Regions from separate parts of the Homo sapiens genome. Here region 1 is linked to region 2. Evidence: promoter capture Hi-C in human tissues and cell types (Jung and others, 2019). All regions are on one chromosome and are shown on one strand. The core of a region is centred on a gene start or on the middle of the fragment in contact, and the rest is flanking DNA. Distances in the headings are between cores, read along the strand shown. Region 1 overlaps CATSPERT (catsper channel auxiliary subunit tau). Region 2 holds the start of MPP4 (MAGUK p55 scaffold protein 4).

The links. Contacts are between HindIII fragments. The study calls those that stand out against the background at their distance.
Region 1: a fragment that was not itself captured here is called in contact with the fragment with the promoter of MPP4 in region 2 in 1 of the 25 tissues and cell types used here (mesenchymal stem cells).

Annotation. Positions count from the first base shown.
Region 1 is chr2:201,527,554-201,530,253 of GRCh38, reverse strand. All of the region lies in intron 13 of CATSPERT (catsper channel auxiliary subunit tau), which reads left to right. Among named protein-coding and RNA genes, the nearest start is that of STRADB, 77 kb to the right of the region's middle. The HindIII fragment of the contact is 6,823 bases long and covers 1-2,700 here.
Region 2 is chr2:201,697,238-201,699,937 of GRCh38, reverse strand. MPP4 (MAGUK p55 scaffold protein 4) reads left to right here and starts at 1,294. Exons shown (of 22, transcript NM_033066.3): 1 at 1,294-1,351. RefSeq lists enhancers at 1-162, 163-664. The HindIII fragment of the contact is 2,902 bases long and covers 1-1,636 here.

The DNA.
Region 1 (2,700 bases), core at 58-2,557, 170 kb after region 2:
TACCCAGAAGTAGGATTGCTGGACCATATGGTAATTCTATTTTTAGTTTTATTGGGAACCTCCATACTACTTTCTAAAATGGCTGTACTAATTTATATTCCCACAAATAGTGTACAAGGGTTCCCTTTTCTCCACATCCTTGCCAACACGTATCATTCTTCTTTTTGATAATAGCCCTTGTAACAGGCATGAAATGATATCATATTGTGGTTTCAATTTGCATTTCTCTGATGATCAGAGATATTGAGTATTTTTAGTATATCTATTGGCCTTTCATATGTCTTCCTTTGAGCCATGTCTGTTCAGTTCCTTTGCCCATTTTAAAATTAGGTTATTTGTTTTCTTGCTTTTGGGTTGTTTGTGTACCTTATATATTTTGAATATTAGCCCCTTATCAGCTGTATGGTTTGCAGATATTTTCTTCCAGTTCATGTTTTGTCTCTTCACTCTGTTCATTGTTTCCTTTTCTGTACAGAAGCTTTTGATTTGATGCAACTCCATTTGTCTTATTTTTGCTTTTCGTGCCTGCATTTTTGGAGTCCTATCCAAGAAATCATTGCATAGACCAGTATTGTGGAGATTTTCCCTTATGTTTTCCTCTATTAACTTTACAATTCCACATTTCCACATCTTACATATAAGTCTTTTATACATTTTGAGATGATTTTTGTGTATGGTGTGAGATAAGTGTCCAATTTTATCTTCTGGGCCATATCTATTTTTCCCAACATCATTTATTAAAGAGTCTGTTCTTTCCCTTTTGTGTTTTTGGCATCTTTGTCAAATATCAACTAATTATAAATACTGAATACTTGGGTTTATTACTGGGTTGTCTACCTGTTCCATTGGTTTATGTGTCTTTGTGCCAGTGCCATGCTGTTTTTATTACAATAGCTTTATAACATAATTTGAAACCAGGGAGTTGTGATGCATCTAGCTTTGTTCTTTTTGCTCGAGATTGCTTTGGCTGTTTGGGGTATTTTATGGTTCCATATGGGTTTTAGGATTATTTTTTCTATTTCTGTGAAAAATGACATTGGAGTTTTAGTGGGAATTGGATTGAATCTGTAGACTGCATTGGGTAGTATGGATGTTTTAAAAATATTAATTCTTACAATTCATGAATATGGTCTATCTTTCCATTTGTTTTTATCTTCTTTCTTTCCTCAGTGTTTCATAGTTTTCCTTGTAGAAGTCTTTTACCTCCTTGGTTAAATTTATTCCTAGGTATTTTATTTTTAGTATAGCTATGGTAAATGGGATTGCCTCCTTGATTTCTTTTTTAGCTAGCTCACTGTGTATAGAAACTACTAATTTTTGTTGTTTTGTTCCTTCCAAGTTTTATTTTAGGTTCAGGAGTTACTTCTGCAGGCTTGTTACATGGGTAAATTTCATGTCTCTGGGGCTTAGTGTACAAATTATTTTATCACCCAGGTAGCAAATATTGTATCCAATAGGTAGTTTTTCGATACTCACCCTCCTTCTACCTTCCACCCTCAAGTAGGCCCTGGTATCTGTTCCCTTCTTTCTGTCCATGTGTATTCAATGTTTAGCTCCCACTTATAAGTGAGAACATGTAGTATTTCGTTTTCTATTCCTGCATTAATTCCCTTAGGATAATGGTCTTGAGCTGCATCCATGTTTCTGCAAATGACATGATTTCTTTTTTTTTATAGTTGCATCAGATTCCGTGGAATATACATACCACATTTGCCTTATCCAATCTACCATTGATGGGAGTCTAGGTTGATTCCATGTCTTTCCTATTGTGAATAGTGCTATGATGAACATATACATGAATGTGTCTTTTTGGTAGAATAATTTATATTCCTTGGGTATATACCCAGTAATGGGATTGCTGGGTCAAGTGGTAGTTCTGTTTTAAGTTCTTTGAGAAATCTCCAAACAGCTTTTCACAGTGGGTGAAGTAATTTACATTTACACCAACAGTATATAAGTGTTCCCTTTTCTCCACAGCCTCACCAGCATCTATTGTTTTTTGACTTTTTAATAATAGCCATTCTGAATGGTGTGAGATGTTAACTCATTGTGGTTTTGATTTGCATTTCTCTCTGATGATGAGTAATGTTGAGCATATTTTCATACGTTTATTGGTGGTGTATATATCTTTTGATAGGTGTCTGTTCATGTCCTTTGCCCACTTTTTAATGTTTTTTTTTTTTTTCGCTTTTTGCTTGTTGATTCAAGTTCCTTATAGATTCTGGATATTAGACTTTTTTCAGAAGTGTAGTTTGCAAATATTTTCTCCCATTCTTTAAGTTGTCTGTTTACTCTGTTGATAGTTTCTTCTGCTGTGCAGAAGCTCTTTAGTTTTTATTAGGTCCTACTTGTCAATTTTTATTTTTGTTGCAATTGTTTTTGGAGTCTTCATAATTAAATCTTTTCCAGGGTCTATGTCCAGAATGGTGTTTCCTAGGTTTCCTTCTAGGGTTTTTATAGTTTTAGGTTTTCCATTTAAGTCTTTAATCTAACTTGAGTTGATTTTGGTAGATGGTGAAAGGAAGGGGTCTGTTTTAATCTTCTGCATGTGGCTAGCAAGTTATCCTAGCACCATTTATTGAGTGGGGAGTGCCTTTCCCACTGCTTGTTATTGTCGACTTTGTCAAAAATCAGATGGATGTAGGTGTGTGGCTTTATTTCTGGGTTCACCATTCTGTTCCATTGGTCTATGTGTCTGTT
Region 2 (2,700 bases), core at 45-2,544:
ATGGACAAACAAAAACTTTGAGACAAATTGACCCATTGAGAAGATTTCCAATGATGATAGGCTGTCTCTGTTCTAAGAAAAGCCATGTTACAATTCGTCCTTTTACTGGAGTCTTGAATGAAACTGTTCAGTTACTTTGGATTCTTCCTACTATATGCTTTTCAGATAGCATATTAAAGTTATAAATTTTGAAGTGTATTGGAAGAAAAACCCTAAATCTCCAGGCCAATGTTTGTAAATAGAAGTCCTTGGCACTCCTGCAGCAGTTTACAATGGTCATTCACATGCGTAATGAATGCTTACAGCAGCCCAAGGATGCAGGTGTTATCCCCATTTCCCCCCATTTTTCAGACAAGCAGTGACCAAGATTTGCTCACTGCCAGAGCTGGGACTCCAGCCTAGAACTTCCCTACTCCCTACTTCCCTAGAAGTCCAGTGCTTTTTGCTACTACAGCTGCCAGAGATGTCATTTCATAGCTGGTTATGTATTGAAAGTTCTTAAAAGTGAGTTAAAAATGAAAATCTTATTGAAATCAAGTGCTTTTCACAAAATATGCTGTACTCAAAACACAAATGTATCACATTCCCAACTTGTGTTTTCATCTATGATGGAGAGATAAGGAAAGCCATGTGATTAATATGGGTAGAAGGGCTGAGGACCCTCTGATAATTGCCATTTGGTCTCTACCTTTTGCCTTGCTGTCAGCAATACCTTCCTCTCCTTTCTGCAATATCCCCTTCCAAATGCTCTCCCCACTGAGCACTCCCTGCAGTATTAAGTTTTCAGATAAAGAAGTAGCTCCTATCTGAGACAGAAAGCACTATTTGTTAGGTTCAGAACAGTGGCTTGGGAGGGGATTGACCAGAAGGTACTGTTTTTGATGGGTTTCTATTATTAGCTGAACAGTCTTCAGTTGTTTTCTCACCATAACATGAGAGATTTAATAAGGTTAGTAGGTTATTGGCTTATTTCCGGTCCTGCCACATTTTTTTCTTTCATTAAAAATGCTATCTTCTGTTGTGGAATGTCTGTCATCTTGAACTAATCAACAAAAATACTATGTTTTTCTGCCGTTAACTATGTGTTGGCAATTTGAGAGAAAATACTAGAATGTAGGTTTGAAAATGATACAAATTAGACTTCAAGGAATACTTAAGAAGATTTGTGGCAGGAAAGGCTTGTGAGTAATTTAGTTGTTAGGCTGGGTTAGGCATCTGTGGATTACATCAAAGAGGATGTGCAGAGATTTTATCGGGAGCAGTGAGGTGACTTTGGCAGCTAACAGGCCACTAGTATCCTACTAAAGCTTTTGTCTGGATAGGAGCAACATGCATGTTTACAGTCTTGCAGGTAAGAGACCTTGGCAAATAATCCTCAGTTACCAGAAGATGTATCCATAACTGCCTAGCTTGCCTGTCAGTTTTTAATAGCTAAAGATATAAATCTGGGTAATCTAACTCAAATGGCTTAGTTTCATTTTAACTCAAATGATATGGGGAATTTTATGATCTTGAAAGAGCAGGTTTTGCTTCGAGAAGCCATTTCTTCAGTATGGAATAATGAGTTGTCAGGAAGATTGAGTACAATGGGCATTTGCCCTGGTCCTAATCAACAGCATTTGGACCCAGAGGAAGCCAGCTATTTTTGTAAGGGCCATTTCTCATCATTAAGTTTCCAAGTGCTTTTTTAGGGTTTGTCTAGTAAAAAGCACTATTTTGAAAAACAAGCATAGTAAGGGTAGGGGGTTGTGGCATTTAATAGTACGTTTTAAAAAGCTAATGGAAATACTTTTAAAACAAGATTTAGGACAAATTCCTTAGGCATCAGTCACACTAATGCATCTTCTGAGTCAAGAACTGGCTATCCTTTCTGTGTACTCAGTCCGGAATTGCATGTGGTGGGTGCTTACTTATTTGCAGTCTCAATCAAGAATTCTCACTCTCAAGATAGCAGAAATAGATAAGCTTCAACTGACAAATTTGGTACAGAAGTCATGGAAAGGAAGGTAAGTCTTTTGCCAGGCATCATGCCAGGCATCAGCATCTTTCAGGACTAAGGAAACAAAAGAGGAAAACTCGATTTTACTACATGTTAACTCTACTGAATACCTCCTTGAATGTCAGATTCCTTATCTGTAAAACAAAGGTTTTGCATTTGATTATCTCTAAGATCCGCTTCTGCCCCCAGTTTTAAAGTTTGATAGGGAAAGAGGTTTAAGTCAGGATACCAGGCCAGGGAGGAAAGGAAGGGAGGGCACAGGCCTCTGGAGTTCAGCTGCCTCCCCCATTAGGATTGAAGTCCCAGCTGCTGGCTACTGCCTTGAGGGAGGTATCAGCCTTTTACTTCTGGATCTTGGCCTCTCCTTGTTCTACCCCTTCCCAACAACAACTGAACATACCAAGTGCTTGCTATGGCCCAAGCACTGTTGCAGGTGAAGCTGCAGCATGAACAAGATAAGCAACATCTCTGCTCCCCAGGCCCTCTGCAGACATGACACCTGCGGGAGACAGACACTGAGCAAGCCAGTGGATACAAGAACTGGGAAAATGAGAAGTGCTATGAGGGCAAGAAGTTGCAACTGTTTTCTTAGCTACCTGGAGGGAGGGAAAATCATTTTCTGGAAGTTTTTTTCTATGAGTTTTGTCTTAGCTTTGGCTGTCATAACAAAGTACCATAGACAGTGGCTTAAACAACAGAAA